Regions from separate parts of the Homo sapiens genome. Here region 1 is linked to region 2. Evidence: promoter capture Hi-C in human tissues and cell types (Jung and others, 2019). All regions are on one chromosome and are shown on one strand. The core of a region is centred on a gene start or on the middle of the fragment in contact, and the rest is flanking DNA. Distances in the headings are between cores, read along the strand shown. Region 1 overlaps MAPK6 (mitogen-activated protein kinase 6). Region 2 holds the start of TMOD2 (tropomodulin 2).

Region 1 (4,431 bases), core at 52-2,551, 270 kb after region 2:
GACTTCACAAAAACAACTCCAATGTTACTGTAGTTAATGGCATTTTCCAGGGGTTGCTTTCATGTGAAGCTGATGCTTTTAAGGTGACAGTGATTTGGGCCTAGTCCAGCATTGATTGGTTTTTTCACCTCCATGAACTGCGTATTTGGAAAATAATGTGTGTCTCTCTAAGAGTTTTTTTGTTTGTTTGTTTTTTGTTTTTGAGACGCTGTCTCCCTCTGTTGCCAGGCTGGAGCGCAGTCGCGCCATCTCGGCTCACTGCAACCTCCACCTCCTAGGTTCAAGCGATTCTTCAGCTTCAGCCTCCCGAGTAGCTGGGACTACAGGTGCGCACCACCATGACCAGCTAATTTTTGTATTTTTTTTAGTACAGACAGGGTTTCATTATGTTGGCCAGGATGGTCTCATCTCCTGACCTTGTGATCCGCCTGCCTGGGCCTCCCAAAGTGCTGGGATTACGGGCATGAGCCACCGCGCCCAGCCAATAGAGTTCTAAAAGTTTTGTCTTTTATACATGTCAGTCTTCTAAGTCCATTTCTAAAAAATTGTTCAGAGATTGAATGTTTGTATAGCAAATACAATTTCCCATTGATTTTCGTTAAATTTGGTATTTTTTTCACAGAAAAAAATGGTATCATAAAACTTGTTTTTTAGAATCCTAGCATTTACCTCAGAAAAGTCTGCCTCTGCAGAAAGTGCAAATCTGTATGCATTTAATTCTGTACAATCATAAAACTTTAAAATATTAGTGTTTTGGAGGGGTCATGGGCATTATCTTGCTTCATTCATGTACATCGTTTGACAGCTAAGGAAACCAAGGCCTGAAGAGATCTAAGATCTTGGTACTGAAAGTGTGATTTCTGGACCAACAGTATTAGCATCACCTGGGAACTTGATAGACGTTAGAATCTTGACTTCATCTCAGTCCTACGGTCCTACTGAATTAGAATCTTAGAATCTACTTTTTCTTTTTCTTTTTTTTTTTTTTTGGAGACGGAGTCTCACTCTGTCACCCAGGCTAGAGTGCAGTGGCACGATCTTGGCTCACTGCAAGCTCCGCCTCCTGGGTTCACGCCATTCTCTTGCCTCAGCCTCCTGAGTAGCTGGGACTACAGCTGCTGCCACCGCGCCTGGCTAATTTTTTGTGTTTTTAGTAGAGACGGGGTTTCACCGTGTTAGCCAGGATGGTCTCGATTTCCTGACCTTGTGATCCGCCCGCCTCGGATCCGCCCGCCCGCCCAGCACTCCCAAAGTGCTGGGATTACAGGTATGAGCCACCGCGCCCGGCCTTCTTTTTTTGTAAATAAGAGGCACAATCTTGCCCTGTTGCCCAGTTTGGATTGGAGTGTAGTGGTGTGATCATAACGCACTGCCACCTGGAACTCCTGGACTCAAGTAATCCTCTCACCTCAGTAGCTGGGACTACAGGCATGTGCCATCATACACTGCCTTTTTTTTTTTTTTTTTTTTTTTTAAGAATTGGAGTCTCACTGTGTTGCCCATGCTCGTCTCAAACTCCTGGCCTCCTAACGTGCTGGGAAGAACCTGCATTTTAACAAGATTTTCAAGTCATTCAGTGCGCATTCAGTTTGAGAAGCACTGCTAAACGATGCATACACCTGGGCAACATAGTGAGACCCTGTCTCTACAAAATAAAATAAAATTAGCCTGTTGTAGTGGTGCACACCTTTAGTCCCAGCTACTTATGAGGCTGAGATGAGAGGATTGCTTGAGCCCAGGAGGTTGAGGCTGCAGTGAGCCGTGATCGCACCGCAGCGTTCCAGCCTGGGCAACAGCAAGAGACCCTGTCTCAAAAAATACGTAAATAAATAAAAATTAAAATGATGCATACATGGTTGCTCAGCTCGTTAGTCTTCTGAGTTGCTCTTTCCACTGGCCCTTCTGAAAAAAGTCAAATGGAAAATTTGGAAGCTAATCACTGCCCAGTTGAACTTTCTATGATGATAGAAGTGTTCTGTGCTATCCAGTGAGGTAGCCATTGGCCATGTGTGACTGTTGAATACTTGACGAGCAAGTAGTGCACTTGAGGAATTGAATTTTTTATTTAATTTTAATTCCTTTAAATAGTTGGGGCTGGGCGCCGTGGCTCACGCCTGTAATGCCAGCACTTTGGGAGGCTGAGGCGGGCGGATCACGAGGTCAGGAGATCGAGACCATCCTAGCTAACATGGTGAAACCCTGTCTCTACTAAAAATACAAAAAATTAGCCGGGTGGCGGGCGCCTGTAGTCCCAGCTGCTTGGGAGGCTGAGGCAGGAGAATGGCATGAACCCAGGAGGCGGAGCTTGCAGTGAGCGCCACTGCACTCCAGTCTGGGTGACAGAGCAAGACTACGTCTCAAAAAAAAATAAAAATAGTTGGATGTAGCTGGTGGTTACATGGACAGCACAGATCTAGATGATCTTTGCCCACTCTAAAATCTAAGCTGTAATTTAATAACTGGTTAGACTCAGTTTAATAATTGTCCTTTCTTAATGTACAAATTGGAGAGAGAGTATGTTGACTTAGTTTTTCTAATATGCCCAGATATTATTTCAGTATGTATTATAAAACAGTGCTGATTTTCTAATTGATACATCTGTGTTCAATAAAGTAGATAATCTAAGTTGTAAGCAAGTCAGTTTCTTTCCATCTTAACAGGTATTTTCACTTGAATTTTTAAAAAGTAGCTATTAAGTTTTCCTTAGTTATCCTGTGGAAAGCATTGGCAGGATAGTTTTTGCCTCTGGCCTAGTCCCTCTAGGCTTGTTGGCACTTGTTGATTACTTCCAGATTGATCTGCTGTTTATGTTAATTCCAGGTACCGAAACAGTGGTTCTTAACCTCCTACCTTTTTTTGTTTTGTTGTTGTCGTTGTTTTGAGACGGAGTTTTGCTCTTATTGTTCAGGTTGGAGTGCAATGGTGTGATCTTCGCTCACTGCAGCCTCCGCCTCCTGGGTTCAAGTGATTCTCCTGCTGCAGCCTCCCAAGTAGCTGGGATTACAGGCATGCACCACCACGCCCAGCTAATTTTATGTTTTTAGTAGAGATGGGGTTTCAACCATGTTGGCCAGGCTGGTCTTGAACTCCTGACCTCAAGTGATCCACCCGTCTCGGCCTCCCAAAGTGCAGGGATTACAGGCGTGAGCCACCGTGCCTGGCCTTAACCTCCCACCTTATGCAGTGGGAAGATTCTAACCCTATAGTCACAGGCCTATGTCCAAATCTTGGCATTTACTGTGTGTGTAAAGAGCATCAGTGCTCTTGTTTGTAAAATGACATTTACAAGACTGTAGTTTGAGATGAGAGAAATAATTTGTCATTTAGAAAATGCCTGTCATGGCTGGGCGCGATGGCTCATGCCTGTAATCTCAGCACTTTGGGAGGCCGAGGCAGGCGGATCACAAAGTCAGGAGTTCTAGACTAGCCTGGCCAACATGATGAAAACCCGTCTTTACTAAAATACAAAAAATTAGCTGAGTATGGTGGTGCATACCTGTACTCCCAGCTACTCTGAAGGCCCAGGCAGGAGAATCGCTTGAACCCAGGAGGCGGAGGTTGCAGTGAGCCGAGATCACACCATTGCACTCCAGCCTGGGCGACAGAGCAATACTCTGTCTTGAAAAAAGAAAATGCCTGTCACAGCCGGGCGCGGTGGCTAATGCCTGTAATCCCAGGACTTTGGGAGGCCGAGGCGGGCGGATCACAAGGTCAGGAGTTCAAGACCAGCCTGGCCAGCGTGGTGAAACCCCATCTCTACTAAAAATACGAAAAAACTGGCCATGGTAGCGTATGCCTGTAATCCCAGCTACTCGGGAGGCTGAGACAGAAAAATTGCTTGAACCCAGCAGGCGGAGCTTGCAGTGAGCCGAGATCGTGCCACTGTACTCCAGGCTGGGTGACAGAGCGAGACTCCCTCTCAAAAAAAAAAAAAAAAAAAGAAAATGCCTGTCACATAATAGGTCCTTAGTAGATGTAAGTTACCTACCCTCCCCCTCCTGCTTGGATTTTATAGCCCTCTGTAATTGAGTTTTATGCTTAAGATTCCAATCAGGCTTAATACATATTCTGAGTCTTCATCTCTACCCGTTACTGTAATTTCATGCCTTGCTTTGTTCATGTTGTATCCCATGTAGATTGTGCCATTTGTGCTCTGGATGTCTTCTCTTGACTTTTTTTTTAATCTTAATTTTTTTTTTTTTTTTTATAGGCGGGGTCTCCCTGTGTTGCCCAGGCTGGGCTCAAGCAATCATCCTGACTCGGCCTCAAAAAGTGCTGGGATTACAGGCATGAGCCACTCTGCTCAGCCTGTTGATTTCTCTTTATTTATTTATTTATTTATTTATTTATTTACTGTTTTTTGAGATGGAGTCTCACTCTGTTGGCCAGGTTGGAGTGCAGTGGCACGATCTTGGCTCACTGCAGCCTCTG
Region 2 (4,557 bases), core at 1,217-3,716:
ACTTACAAGATATGGTCCAGAAATGATCATGGGTTTCAACTGATAAGTCATAGGCATATTGACATCCTTTCTTCCTTAAGATAAGACATAGGCAATAGATTTAAAGAGCTAAACAGACTGGAACTGGTAATATCTTTCCATTAAGTTTTAACATTAGGTTAAATGTTCTACTTCCCTCACTCATCCTTTAACACCTTCCAGCTTCCAACACTCATCATACAGACAGAGACTGATCAGAAGTTTCTTTTCACAACTCACTTTATTTTGGTGTCAGCATCCTCCTGGAGCATGGCTCTGGGGCTGTAGGATAGCTCTTGTATCTCTGCTTCGACTGCCGAACATGACTTTAACTTAAATCATTCCCCTGTCTGCTTCCTTTCATGGCTAGTTTCTGAAGGAATACTCTATTCGTTTTATCACATGCAGCCATTTTCCTCGTGCAGAACCACGGGAAACCAAAGAGAAATACTGTACACTACTGAGCACCTTTGCTACTCTTTCTTCCAATATGAATGAAATTGCTTTATTATTTTCAGCATATGCCTACTATCAGCTTTCTCTGGGAAAACTGCTGGCTCGATCCGTAAGCAGCCCTGTTCTTATTTAACAGAAGGCTATGACTGTAACAAATGTACAACATAAAAAAGTCAAAGGCATCCTGTCGGTTACACAGGACATTCGGAATAACAAATGTACAGGAAAACTTGGGAACATGACTTAAAGTAATTTGGTCACACCCCCATTTCATTTAACTCTTTCTGGCTCAGATTTGTCATTCTGACAGGAGGCCCAAGATATAGTCCATTACCACAATTGATCATAGAAACAACACTGGTCTCTCAGTCAGCAGCCACTGCGTGCCAGTGTTCATCATGCTAGTTCCCAGAGTTTTAGAGGATTAACTTTACTTTCTGGTTCAACCCATCTGCTGGGGAAGGTATGGCCCTATTTTGCAATGTGCAAAAGGGAGACAGTGCTGGGGGTGCCCACAGTGGAAGGAGAGAAGACAGGCTTACTGAACACCCCTATGACCTTGAATAAGTCACATCACCTCTCTGTGCCTCTTATTAACTATCATTGGGGAAAAATACCTTCACTCTGCCTGTCTCACAAGGGTTCTTGTAAAAATCAAATGAGAACACAAATAGGAAAGTATTTTCATAAATGCAAACCAGTGTTATCATTTTCAGATGTGGAATTTCCTCTGCAGCACGTTTTTTTGGCCACACGATTACTGCACACCTCGTGCCAGACAGACTATAAAGCTGTTTCACCTCTTTTCACATTTTGCCTAAAATTTCATATAGAGATTACACCAGCCATGCTGCATCCATCCCTTTGGTTCATTTTCCTCCACTACATCTGTGAATGCAAATCCCACCATCATGTGAAACACTGCATAGCAGCAACTTGCAAAACTCAACGAACCTTAGACTGCCAAGATAAGTCCCATAAGCAAAGGTTATGCTCAAAATATGCTGCAAAAGTTCAAGAAGGAGAGAGATATCACATCTAATTAGAAAAGGCCTCTGGAAGTTAAATCTAGATGCCATGTATTTTCATAATGTTGGTCTTTGTCCTATGTCACCCCACTCTGCTGTCATGCTTCAGAAACTTGACTTTATTTTCTCTATCTTTGGAGCTCTCAAGAACCTGGCAGACAGAACATCTCAGGGTATATTCAGGGATGAAGTGAACGGGCTCAACGACTAACAAACCCAGTGGATTTTAACATTTACCCAGCCCAACGAGGTCCAACTATCTTTAGGTTAGCACGACATATAGGACTTTCCCGGCCCAAGAACTCCCTCGGAAACCCCAAGGAAGGAACTTTCACTGAGTATGCACTAAGTGCCAGATCCTAAGTGCTATGGGTCGCTTAATCCTCACAACACTTTTTCAAGCTTGAAGCCTGTTTTACAGATGAGGACGCGAAGGCTCAGACAGGCTAAGTTGTCCGGTCTCACCTCAGTGAAGCCGCCACTGCGCTTGGGCTCTCCAGCCCCTCACGCCATCACCCTAGAGCCTTGCTAACTTCCACCTCGCTTACCTCCTTCCCTCCCTAGGCTGCCAACCCAACTACTCTCTCCTCCCACGCCCACGCCCAGCCAGGAAAACCTGGGGCGGGCGGGGTCTGTACCTGAGACCGCTCTCAACGCGGCTTCCGTGTCAGGATGCTCGCTCACAGGAATGCTCATCACAGGCTTGAAAGCCTTTGCCATCCACGCTCTCCGGAGCCCCGAGCGTCTCCAAAGAGCCTGCCCAGGCTTCTCCCCGACCCAGGTGCTTCCTCCCCTGCAGAGCTGTGGCGGGGTTCAGACCCCGATTCCGGGAGAGGACACCTGTCGGGGAAGGGCGGGGCTGGGGGACTGCGGGGCCGCGGCGAGGCTCAGCCGGGAACTACGCTTCCCAGCCTGCTCCGCTGCAGCCGCGCGCCCCGGCGCCGCGCCCGGCCGGGAGCCGCCTGTTGATCGCCGCGCTCGCCCCGGCCACGGCGCCGCCCCTGTTCTCCCGGCCCCGCTCCACCGGGGCTGACGGACTGACGGCCAGCACAGCCGGCTCCGGGATGAGCGCACGGACGGGTGAGCGCCCCGGGGGGCGGGTGGGGCCTGTTCTGGACAGCCGGTGTCTGCAGCCCCCGGGCCCGCAGCGCGGTGGCCGCCGTGCCCTCCCTGCCCGCGGGAGGATGCTCCGCGACATGGGCGGTCGGCCGGGCGGGCGTGCAGAGCCGGGCCGCCTCTCGCCTCTCGCCTCCCGGCCCGGTCGGCTGCGCCGGGAGACCAGGCGCTGCGCCCGGGCGGGAGGCGCCCGCCGGGGTGTGAGTCCCGCGCCCCGCACTGCGGTGCCGCAGCCTCTGCAGCCCGCTGGGCCGCAGCGGGGAGGGCGCGGTCTCCTGTCCTCCCGGGCTGCGGGGCTGTGTTCTTCCACTCCGGGCTTTGTTCCCCCACTTTTCCCCTTCCTGTGCATGTTTGGTGAGCTCCTGGAGCGGTATGCATCTCCCTGCCTCGTTCAGCAGGCGATGGGGAGGGGTGGACTGGCCGGCGTCTTTCCTGAGATCGCTGGAGCTGTCACTCGCAGGGCGTTTCAGCCTCCCAGTAAGCGGCCTCGTGCGGATCCTCGAGAACCTTATTATTATTGTTATTACTTTTCTGGTTAAAGTAATTGTAGTATGTGCTCCCTTGAGGCTTCCTAAATGTTCCCTGTTGACCTGCGGAAATGAAGGTGGATTTTTAAAACAGTAATAAAAGGCTTCTAATGGGAATTTTTAGAGTATTCAGAGGTAGGAAGGTGATGCCGTCACAATGCAAATTAGCAGTGAAGGAGGCCGTGCTTACTGCAGCTTCGTCTGTGCCCATTACATATCTGAATCACGAGGCATTTAGGACGGGAATGAAAAGAAGATCGGGGGAGGTGTTTTAAAAACCAGGTTCTCCTCTTAGCTTGACCATTCAGGAGCTGAGGGACCTGGGCAAGTCCCTCCACCTCTCTGGGCCTCTGCATGTAAAGGGGCGTTTGGGCTAAATGATTTGTAAACCTCTGTTCTTCCAAGATTCTCCCCTCTCAGGGAACTGAAAAGATGAGAGTGTTTCTGTTTAACAGCACTACAAAAAGCCTAATTGTGACAACAAGCGCCTCTACCCTAGTGAGGAGGAAAGATTTTTCAGAGCTTCAGCAATCTGATTTTTTTTTAAAGATAAAACTGATTTTCTCGATCGACTCTCTTCAGTCTAACCCAATAAATACGCATTGCAATCATTTTAATTTTTGTAAGGTACTGTACATTGGTGGGCAACAAAATGATGGGGTTTGTTTTTGTCTTTAATTTGCTGAAGGTGAAGTGATGGGATCAGCAGATAAAGGATTAGTGGCTCCCTAGGGCTGGGCACGAGTGGTCAAATGTGGTCAGCATGGAGGTCGGGGAGGAAGCCCCAGCAAGAAGTAACCAGAATGTGTATACACAGAAAAGAGAAGTTGCGTACTGATGGATCATTGTTTGAAAAAGAAATATGCAATAGAAGGAATGAGAGAATCAGGAACTCGGCGCTCTGCAAACCTAACATAACAGTTGAATAAGGCAAGGACTTACCAACTGGTCCAAAACCTTTGAGTGAAAGGTGGTTGGGGAATAGGATTTTCATATTATTTCAAAGTATCTCACCACAGTTTACTCTGGGAAAATTTGTCCTTACAATGGAGAAATTAGGAGGTCACCACTGGAACCAAATGACCAAGTTTAGCAGCATCTACTGCGAGTCTCCCGTTGTGAAGCAATAAGGAGGCATAATTTCACCTCTGTAGTGTTCCTGCAAAAAGACTTGGCGATGGGGCAGAGCAAATGGGAGCAACTATTGTAGGTTAAAATACTCAAGTGATACAATAGTGAATTGGGATGTGTGAACTTTGAATCCTAGATGCAAAAAAAAAAGCTATAAAAGACAATTTGGAGATAGTTGGGGATGTTTGAATATGGATTGCATGTTAGATGATATTATGGAATTGGTGTTAATTTTCTTAGGTGCAATAATAGTTCATTCTTGTGGTTACCTAGACCAGACA

Evidence for each region. Contacts are between HindIII fragments. The study calls those that stand out against the background at their distance.
Region 1: a contact is called between a fragment that was not itself captured here and the fragment with the promoter of TMOD2 in region 2, in 2 of the 25 tissues and cell types used here (dorsolateral prefrontal cortex and psoas muscle).

What each region holds. Positions count from the first base shown.
Region 1 is chr15:52,023,429-52,027,859 of GRCh38, forward strand. All of the region lies in intron 1 of MAPK6 (mitogen-activated protein kinase 6), which reads left to right. Among named protein-coding and RNA genes, the nearest start is that of MAPK6, 6.4 kb to the left of the region's middle. RefSeq lists an enhancer at 1,496-2,076. The HindIII fragment of the contact is 8,453 bases long and covers 1-4,431 here.
Region 2 is chr15:51,749,131-51,753,687 of GRCh38, forward strand. It overlaps TMOD2 (tropomodulin 2), which reads left to right and starts at 2,467. Exons shown (of 10, transcript NM_014548.4): 1 at 2,467-2,582. It also overlaps a transcript of LYSMD2 not described here. RefSeq lists an enhancer at 2,021-2,090 and silencers at 2,201-2,630, 2,681-2,790, 2,821-2,880. The HindIII fragment of the contact is 8,938 bases long and covers 218-4,557 here.